Regions from separate parts of the Homo sapiens genome. Here all the other regions are linked to region 1. The links are contacts of gene promoters, found by promoter capture Hi-C in human tissues and cell types (Jung and others, 2019). All regions are on one chromosome and are shown on one strand. The core of a region is centred on a gene start or on the middle of the fragment in contact, and the rest is flanking DNA. Distances in the headings are between cores, read along the strand shown.

Region 1 (3,129 bases), core at 426-2,925:
GCTCTGCACTCTGGGCTCTACATTTAAAAAGACGGGGAGATGGGGGATAAAATGCCTGATTTATGCTGAGGGGGGCACTCCAGGCCACCGGGAAGGGTTGAAGGGAAAGGGACCCAGAGCCAGGGCCCATGGAGCTGAGAGCTGTCCAGGGCCTTTGGTGCTGAAAGCAGGTGCGCGCGCTGGGGGTCCAGAACTCCCCGGAGAAGAACACCGCCTGTCCCCCAACTCCGAGTCAAGACGGTGCAAATGACAGAGGCGGAGCCCCAGATAAGCATAGTGCCTGCGCTCCCTCTGTCTTCAGCCTGGGCAGACCCTGCAGCTGTCTGCTTTTTTACACGTGAGGAGCGCATTTCTGGGACCTTGCAAGAAGGCCGGGTCCTGTGGCCAACTAACCCTCCCATTGATTTTCGGGTCTCCTAGGTGCCTGAGAAAACCCCCGAAGCTCTGAGGGTTAGCTTTGGGTGAGTTAGGCGTTGCACCCCTCTCTCTATCTGGCCCTCTCCCCCACCCATAACTTTTCCTGGGGTACCTTACCGGGGTGGAGAGAGGGTATGGTTCCAGGTCTGAGAAAGAGGAGCTGTCATTCTCTGCTAAATTTGGGCCCCTCTTCCCCTTCAACAAACACGTGGTAGATGAAACTAACACCCCTCACCCCCCATTCCTAACAGTGATCAGAGATGCTAGGCAGTAGGGGAGAGAGTAGAGGGGAGCCCGTTCAGGTTCCCAACTGCTAACTAACATCTCTTCTCCCTCCCCTACCAAGTTCTCAGAGCCCTCAGCCCCCTCCACCGGCCTCTAGCGAAAGCCACACCCAAGTCCGGTATCCTGACGCTTGGCTGAGATCGATCCAGGAACACAGACCCTCGGGGTAGCCTGAACCAAAGGAGTCAAGGGTTTCTGTGGTGTCGGGGGGAGCGGCAAATGCACTGTTTGAGTCTAGTCCTCAGTTGCAGGGTGGGTCAGCTTCTCACCCCCCTTCCTGTCCTCTCCCGGAGAGGAAGATAATTATCTGGCACCTAGCCCCGGGTGCGGTTGCAGAGAAGCGCCGGGAATTTGGGGTTTGGAGGCGACCCCACTCCAAGGAGAACCTCTTTGGCTGCAAAGGAGAATCAGCCCCGCAGCCGGGGAAGACCGAAAGGGAGCCCGCAGCCGAAGCAGGGAAGCGCCCGAGTCCTTCAACACATCCCCGCCTCCACACTCCCATCAGCCCGGGCCAAGGGGACGTGCGGTTCCTAGCCCCGATTTTGGACAGCCACCACCGCTTCCCATCCCGGCGGGTGGTGCCTGAGTCGCCCTGGTCAGCCCCGACCCCTGGCTGCCCCGCTCTCCCGGCAACTTTGCCCCCTGCCCGCCCCGCCCCTCGGGGCGCTTACCTCGCTCCAGCGCTGCCGCCGGGCTCCCCAGGAGCAGAGCGAGGAACAGCGAGATCCCGCGGAGTCCCGCGGCGGGCGGCCGGGCCGCGGGCATCGTGGCTGCAGGGGGCGCGGAGCCGCTGGCTGTGGGGCGGGCGGACGGCGAGGGAGCTGGGGAAGGAGGGCGGCGGTGAGCGAGAAAGGGGAAGCGGGAGCGAGGGAGGAGGCCGCGGGCCGGGGCAGCTTCCGGAGCCCCCTGGGCGGACGCGCGCTCAGCCCCGCGGTCGCTCTGGCCGAGCTGCGCCGGGCGCGGGCGGGCGAGTGAGGAGGAGCCGGCGAGCGAGCGAACGAGCGTGGAGCGAGCGGGAGGAGGGAGGGGGCTGGGGCCGAGTCTGTGCCGAGCGAGTGCAGGGAGGGAGGGGGCGGGCGAGCGGGCAGTGAGCTGGAGGGGCCGCGGCGGCGCCGGGGGTGCCAGCCGCCTCCTCTGGCCGCCGGCCCGTCGGCCCTGCAAAGTTTAACGCCAATTCCCCTTGCGTCCTGGGAGCCGAGCGTTTTCTCTCCCTGCTGACGCTCCCAGCAGCTCTGCCTGGCCAGGCCAGGCTGGAGAGCACCCGGACCATTTTCCAGACGGTGAGATGGAGCCCTGGAAACCGAGCTTATGAGCAGCCCGGAGCTTTCCATTGCCTGCCCAGCCTTCCAGATACATCCCAGTTCCAGTTCTTTCCAGAGCCCTCTGGGATCCAGCCAGCCTGCTTCCCCGCCAGGGCCTCACTGCTTCCAAAGTGAGTCCCCATAACCTAGAAAGTCTGTAACTCTGTGGATCTGGTGACAGCTGTGAATCTACTAGAACACTACACATAGCCACAAAATCGTGCATCTAACACGAGGGGGTCTGGACCCCTCTGAAGCCCAATCACGAACTCTAAATTAAGATCCACCTCCACTTTTTAATCTGAGCCCTGTCTCCCATAACCCCACTGCCGGCAGGGCACTAGCGCTGCGAGGCTTCCTCTCAGGTCAGCCGCTTGCCTCTTCCTGTACCCGCTTCCCTATCTGAGCAGGACTACAAGGCCCACCTCTGCAGCATTCTTGCCCAGGCCTGATTCTCAAGCAAAGTCTTTTCTCCACAAATAGAGGTAGTGAGGGACAATCAATGAGGGAGATAAACAGATACTTGGGGACAGACATTGGCAGAGAGCTAGGTGGGGACAAGCTTATGCACAGTCCTGGAGACTGACTGTCTCTCCCTGCGTAGCCTTGGCAGACCGGTCAGGCTTTACAGGCCTCTCACCCAATTTAGAAGCTGTCCTCCTCCCCCTACCCTACCTTGCCATACTATCTACACACTGCAGCCTGAACAGGCAGAGGGAGCAGATGGAGAGAAGGTTGCAGGCAGCAACAGGGGGAGGAATATGTCTTTAGCAGCGTGGTGGAGCCGGGAGTCCCTAGAAAGAATGGGTGGGGGAGGTGAACACTGGATGGAGGAGGGAAGGAGAAGCACTCTGGCCCAGGGTTTCAGAAGACGCTCCACACCCAGAGCTTCCCCATTTACTCACTCAAACAATGCTCTTTTACAGGCCACTGACTATAGGCCCAGACCTGCCTCAGGCTTTGGGGGACAGAGAGCCCCCCCATAAAATCCTATCTTCAGCTGCAAGAGGTTTCCATTCCTGGCAGTAAACCCAACTGGCTTTTATAAAGAAGGTGGCTGAGGCAGGGATGCAGGAGTGCTGATTTCTCCTTTGGAGAAGATGAAGCACTCCATGCTTTACTGTAT
Region 2 (3,251 bases), core at 400-2,899, 69 kb before region 1:
ATGTGTGTGTTGAGGGGATACACAGAAAGCTGCAAATTGATATTTGCAGCTCAAGAAGCCCCAGCCCCAGCCTTGTTGAGGGAAGTTGAATTCTCTGAGTTAAGCCAAGGGTGAGGTGAAGGTGCGGGTGGAGGGGGCTGTGTGCGGTTGTGGGGGGATGGCAGAGGGGATTGGGGTTGGGAGAGAATGAATACAAAATGAATGGCTTTGTGCTTGGGCCTGCATGCAGCAACAGAAGGTCACGCCAGCAGGTTCAGGATGCATTTGGCCAGCATGGAAAGTGAAAAGAGAATGTTTTACAACCTCAGCGGCTCTGTGAGTCAGAAAACCACAGCTGTTCCATGCTGATAAGAAACCAGGGGAAGATAAGTTGCCCCTTGGATCTGAGGAAGAGGTAGCAGGTGGAGTTAGAAGGATTTGGGGTTGGAGTCAGGGGTCTGGGGTCTCATCTTGAATCAGTCCTCCCAGAGGCTCCAAGGCTGAGGGAAAGAACTTTGGTTTCAGAGTACTGGAGGCTTGGATTTAGGTGTGGATTCTCCTTCTCGCTAGTTGCAGTTCCTTCTATACAAAATGAAGATTCCCACAATCCCTTTTCATGGTCTCACTGGATAAAATGCTGCTTTGTGAACAGCATTGAACAAGAGGGTGCAGAACCTGTCTGATGATGCTTGAGAAGGCTTCCAAAGAACTTGCTGGCTAACTGGCAAGTGCTTCTTGACCATCTACTATGAGCAAATGCTGAGGTGTGTGCTGGGGATAGGGGACCTAAAGCCACAGCCCTCTCCACTCCACCCTGCCCCCCAGCTGGCCAGATGCTCCCCCTCCTTTTTTTGAGACAGGGTTTCACATTGCCGCCCAGGCTGGAGAGCAGTGGCCCGATCATGGCTCACTGCATCATCAGATTCCTGGATTCATGTAATCCTCCCGCCTCAGCCTCCCAAGTAGCTGGGACTACAAGCACATGACATCATGCCCTGCTAATTTTTTAAATTTTTTGTAGAGATGGGGTCTTGCTATGTTGCCTAGGCTAGTCTTGAACTCCTGGCCTCAGGTGATCCTCTTACCTTGGCCTCCCAAAGTGTTGAGATTACAGGGTTGAGCCACTATGTAGAGGCCCAGTTACACTTCTAAAGTCACACTGGACTTTCTGCAGCTTCAACCCAGCAGTTACAACATGTTGTTCTAGTTATTCGAGAGGCAGAGCAGCCTAGTGTGACCAGCAGGGGTTTAAGTTGGAAGGAACTGGTTTGAATCATGGTTCCTTCCTAACTGCATGAACCTCAGTCAAGTGACTAACGATTTCCATGCCTCAGCTTTTCCATCTGCAAACTCAGGGTAAAAATAGGACCTATCATCTCATTAAGCAATGGAGAATATTGAATGAAATAACTTATGCGAAGCCTGGCTTATTGTTGGTGCCCAAAAAACAGCAGGTATTACTATTTTTGCTATTATTGCTACAGCTGTTATTATTTATGTACTTTCTTTATCTGGCCACTTATGCTGCTGTCTCCTGGGAAGCAGTGCCTGCGTTTTACTCCTATTTGACATCCGCAAGGGATCGGAACTGCCTGGCTCAACACAGGTGCTAATCAACAGTTTTGAAGTGGATGAAGGAGTGGTTGAATGAATGCCATCTTGTCATGAGGCCATCTTCATAAACACGGTTCCTCAACTTTTGTCTTCTTCCAGATGGAATGCATATTTTTAGTTCTTGCACATCCTTCTGTGTTTCCCTCCTGAGTGCTTTGCCCCGTAGTGGCTCACAGTGGGTCCGTACAAAATACCAGCCTGAATGCCTACGCAGCCCTTCAGGCTAAACCCTTCTAGGACACAACCTTTTCATCAACTGCATGGGGCCCACAGCTATTCCTTAGCCCCTTTGCCCTTCTGCCTGCTCTGACCAATGCCCTGCCCCTTTAATTAATAATAGGGACATGATTTGCTCAAATCCCGACCTCTGTTCATCCACTGCCCTGGGATATCAGTAAGATGTTTACTCTTCCATCTCCCCCGGGGAACTTGGGTTCCACAGCTCCTTTATCAACAATAATCCTGGGCTGCAGGCTTGATGGTGGAAAATGAATATTCTGGCTCCTTTTCAGTTTCCAGATTGATTGGGGACAAACGGGAACTCAGCCCTCTCAACCAATCATCCAAGGCAGTCAGCTGTAACTAGGTGTACACTTAAACAGCCGGCATGTGAAATAGCACACTTGTGCTCTGCTGATTAAAAAAAAAATCCAAATCATTATTCCCCACCTTCACAGGCTTGGAGGCCTAGGAGCAGGTGGGGTGGGGTGGGTGGCAGATGAGGCTGCCTCAGTAGCCCTAACCATTTCATCATTAATATCCACCCACCCACTATGCATTGTCCACAGTAAAATGTGCTTTGTCTTCCACACTGTATTGGTGAACAAATAAATCACTCAGTTCCTTGGTTTTAGTAAAACAATAAGAGCAACACTGGTGTAGTGTTTACTTTGTTCCAAGCACTTTGCATATATGAACTCACTTCATCCTCCTAACAACCCAACAGGTAGGTATCATCAGGATACCCATCTTATAGATGAAGAAACTGAGGCACAGAGAGGTGAAATAACTTGCCAGGTTTATCCACTGTATAAGTGGCTCTGGCTTCCACTCTGACATCTTTGGATTTCTACATGCAAACATTTTATTGGGAGTTTCCTATTTGTGAGACGTTGCACCAGAACCTGAGAATAGGCAAAAGACCTGGTCCCTGCTCATTGTGGGAAACAGGCGTGTAATTGAAGGAATGAAGCAGTGGCTAACGTGAATTAGAGCTTACTCAGCAGCGAGTCAGTGCTAAGAAGCTTTACGTAATAGTTCTCATGACAACCATATTAGGTAGAAACTTGATTATCCTTGTTTGACACACAGGGAAACTGAGGCTCAGGGAGGGGAAGTGGGGAAGTCACACCTCGAGTTGAGCAGCTAAGCCTGGATTTGAACCTATCCCTGTGTGACTCAACATCCCACTGCCTAGGACTCCCTGGCAGCTAGCCCAGCCTGGATGGTCAGTGGCAGCTTCTGGGAGTGGGAAGACTGAGAGCGAGGCAGAGAATGAAAGGGGGAGCAGAGACAGGTTCTGGTTGAGGGTTCTGGATATGAATAAGGCTGGTGTGTTAGGGGGACTGTTGTGTATGGGGGCTTCTGCATGGACAGAAGGCAGAGGAGAGGCTAATGGTAGCCACACCAAGCTGAGGCTCAGAGGCCATGGTCAGGAT
Region 3 (3,501 bases), core at 133-2,632, 94 kb before region 1:
CTCCTGTTTTTGTAAATTAAGTTTCACTGGAACATGGTCCTGCTTTTTCTTTTTATGTATTGTCTAAGGATGCTTTCATGCAGAGTTGAATAGATGCCCCAGAGACTAAATAACCATCAAAGCATAAAATATTTACTATTTGGCCCTTTAGAGAAAAAGTTTGCCAGCCCTGGCAAATGTCTGTTCCTTTAGAGAAGTATAAACATATGATATTACCATGTATTTTAATAGGTAAACTTTAAAAAGGTCAAATTTTGATAATTTCATGGGTTCTATCTAATGACCCATTTTGGCATTAAATTCTGGAAGTCATACAGCTTGTTTCATCCATCTTCCTCATTTGTATTTGCATAATAAACAGAACTGAAGCTCAGAGAGGTTAAGTGATTTGCCAAAGGTCACACAGCTACAAAGTGACAAGATCGGGGCAGAAGCTTTTCCTGATCCATGTGCCTCTGACCAGAGAGGGCCCTGACAAAGCCTGTGCTCTGTTGTCAACCTCAGAACTCTCACAGTTACCAAATATTCACATCCTCCCAGGCAGTGCTTGCCCTAGCAAATGCAGCCTCAGAATCTGCCAAGATTCCAGAATTGGAATGACCCTGAGTTTACTCTTTGTGTTGCTAACACCAAGTTTTGTGACTGGAATCCTTGATCTGAGAGATGGCCAACGATAATCTTAGCTGTCCATGTTGCAGGATTTAGATGCTCTGTCAAAAGCAATGGGGGGTTTCACACGTGAGGTAGAGGGGACATCACTAGAATTGCAAAGATCACTCTACTTTCTGGCTGGAGCTTTGAGAGGGATTAAGGGTGGAAGCAAAAAGATCAGTCCAGGTGAGAGATGATGAGGCATGGCTAGCTGTGGGGACTAAAAGGTGAACAAGATTTAAAACAGATCTGTTTAGAGTCAAGAAGTCTTGGGATTGAGTTGGATAGAGACGGGAGAAGGCTGAGAGAAGGAAGAGATCAAGGAGGATGCCCAGGCTTCTGCCTGAGCAACCAGGTGGAGTGGAGATTTTCCTGCACTGTAAATGCTGAGTAAGGACCAGCTTTGGGAAGATCAGATTTGCCCTACAGGCCACTGCATAAAAGGGAAACTGTCTATCTCAGATGATCGTTGGGAATTGGGACAACATTTGTGCAGAGCTGGACGTAGGGTCTGTATTCCTTAAATGTGTGATTTGAGAAGATAAAAGGATGTCAATAAAGGCATTATGGCAGGATGGAAAGAATGTGGATTTTGGAGTCACAGAACTTTTCATTCAAATCCAGCATCTTCCACTTACACATGAGGTGACCTTGGATGCTTTATTTTACTTATCTGAGTCTTGATGTCTCATCCAGAGATATTGAGACATGGATGAGCAGACACAGTGCTAAGCGCACTTGCATATCTCCATTAGCCGTCACATGCACCCTGACGGGTGGGGGCTACTTCTGCAAGGCTTGTTTTACAAATGACGACAAGAAGGCTCAGAGAAGTAAACATACTTGCCTCCAGGTTACACAGTAGGCAGTGGTGTTGGATTTGAAATGCAGGACTGTAAACTCTGCAGGTAATAACTTCCCCCTCTTGGGTGGTTGTGGAAATGAGTCCAGGGGAGGAGTTAATGTGGCATGTGGCACCCGGTAGACCATGGGAAGCATGAAAGTGCTGAGTGATACCAAGAGTCCTTTCCATAGGAATTTAGGGGAACCAGGGCTAGGTGCTCCTGGGGGCTTCTTTGTGGAAATGACATTAATTCTGAGACTGAATGGTAGTCAATATAGCAGGGCAAGACTATGGGAAGAAGGGAAAATGGATGTAGCTGCTCAAAATATGAGCTTAGTAATTTTGTGAATTGAAAAGAAATCAAAGTTCTCAGCCCTGTGCTCAAACCATTTCGTCACCCTTGTGATTTGCTTTGAAAGTCTAGTGAACTCATGGTGGTCTCCCTTTAGGGACCAAGGTTTCTCTTGATAAAGAATTTGAGCTTCATGTCCTGGGCTTTCAGAAGCTCCCCCATCGACCCATGCACATGCTGGTCCTCCTTCTCCCGTCTGGCTAGTCTTTCTTACCTGGATTTCAGGTTCTCTGCTTAAATATCACCTCTCTGGCTTTCTAGACTAGTTTTGTCACCCATTACAAGCTCCCTGAGCTCCCTGTGCTGGTAACACTTACGTCTGTCCTTCACACTAGGAAAGAAGCCTGAGAATGGGAATGGTATTTGCGTTTATAAAACTAGCACCAGCAGCTGCAATATGGGCACATAGAAAAGGCTATGTACTAAATACTTGAATACAAGAATAAATGAATGAGTTTGTATGTTACATCCTGGTTCCTAATCACATCTGGATTAATATCTTTCCCTTTTTCCCTCAAAGATTTCTGCAGATTTACATGAGGAGATGTGCTGCAGTTGAGTCTCACACCTGCCATATATGTTCTTCTTCTCACAAGAAGGGCCATGTATTTCTTTTTAAAAGAGATAGATAGATAGATAGATAGATAGATAGATAGATAGATAAAATATATCAATATATAAAAGGTGCATATATATATCTTTTATATATCAATATAAATATATATTTGTTTGTATATCAATATATTAAATATATATATATATTCCCATTATACCTCTGGCCAACAGATTATTTCCAGAATTCTTTTGTCTCATAGAACTCACTTGCTACCCTGGAAACAAGAGAAAACCCAAATGGTTTGACTAAGCTTTCAAGACCCACTAGGGCTGGGTCAAACAAACTCCTTATTTCCCTCTGTTTCCCAATCGTGGAGGCTAACTCTTCCTCACTTCTGGATGATCACTCAGCTGAAATCCACTGGTCTCCTCTGTTGCTCCTCCTTGACCAATCCCACCTCCTCCTTAAAGCTACCTCCAATAATCTCAGTCCAATCTGACTTCTCCAAAATACTCGTATCAATTTTGCCTGAACCACACTTTTTATTATTTCATCCCCATTTTATTCACGCTTATCTACCCTCCCAACTCTATTCTTTCAAAGGAGAGACCTCACCTTGGCCAATTTTGTCTTTTTACAGCATCTGTACTTTATGCTTAGTAGGCACACACTACTTGTCTCCTCTGTGTATTTCTCTTGTAACTCCTTGTTCAGAGTCTGTCTTCCTCATTAGATTGTAAATTTCACAAGGTTAGGGACTATGATTCATCTCTATACCCTCTGTTTCCTGAATCCATGCAGTACAGTAAGTGGTCAATAAATGGTTTGTTGAAGCAAACAAAGACATAAAGTGGGGAAAGGACACCCTACACAACAAATGGCGCTGGGATGATTGGCAAGTCACATGTAGGAGAATGAAACTGGATCCTCATCAGTCACCTTATACAAAAATCAACTCAACATTGATCAAGGACTTAAATCTAAGACCTGAAACTATAAAACTTCTAGAAGATACATCGAATAACCCTTCTAGACATTGGCTTAGGCAAAGACTTCATGACCAAGAACCCAAAAGCAAATGCAACAAAAACAAAGATA

What was found. The method cuts DNA at HindIII sites, captures the fragments that hold promoters and counts their contacts. A contact is called where the count stands out against the background at its distance.
Region 2: a contact is called between a fragment that was not itself captured here and the fragment with the promoter of SEZ6L in region 1, in 3 of the 25 tissues and cell types used here (H1 embryonic stem cells, IMR-90 fibroblasts and mesendoderm cells).
Region 3: a contact is called between a fragment that was not itself captured here and the fragment with the promoter of SEZ6L in region 1, in 4 of the 25 tissues and cell types used here (H1 embryonic stem cells, aorta, mesendoderm cells and 1 more).

The regions. Positions count from the first base shown.
Region 1 is chr22:26,168,008-26,171,136 of GRCh38, reverse strand. It overlaps SEZ6L (seizure related 6 homolog like), which reads right to left and starts at 1,675. Exons shown (of 17, transcript NM_021115.5): 1 at 1,374-1,675. The coding sequence starts at 1,467. It overlaps LOC105372971 (a long non-coding RNA gene), which reads left to right and starts at 1,903. Exons shown (of 6, transcript NR_188586.1): 1 at 1,903-2,134. RefSeq lists an enhancer at 1-696 and a silencer at 1,523-1,652. The HindIII fragment of the contact is 7,592 bases long and covers 1-3,129 here.
Region 2 is chr22:26,236,805-26,240,055 of GRCh38, reverse strand. The region is part of intron 1 of SEZ6L (seizure related 6 homolog like); the gene reads right to left. Among named protein-coding and RNA genes, the nearest start is that of SEZ6L-AS1, 8.2 kb to the left of the region's middle. RefSeq lists an enhancer at 179-464. The HindIII fragment of the contact is 5,989 bases long and covers 1-3,251 here.
Region 3 is chr22:26,261,254-26,264,754 of GRCh38, reverse strand. All of the region lies in intron 1 of SEZ6L (seizure related 6 homolog like), which reads right to left. Among named protein-coding and RNA genes, the nearest start is that of SEZ6L-AS1, 16 kb to the right of the region's middle. The HindIII fragment of the contact is 4,858 bases long and covers 1-3,501 here.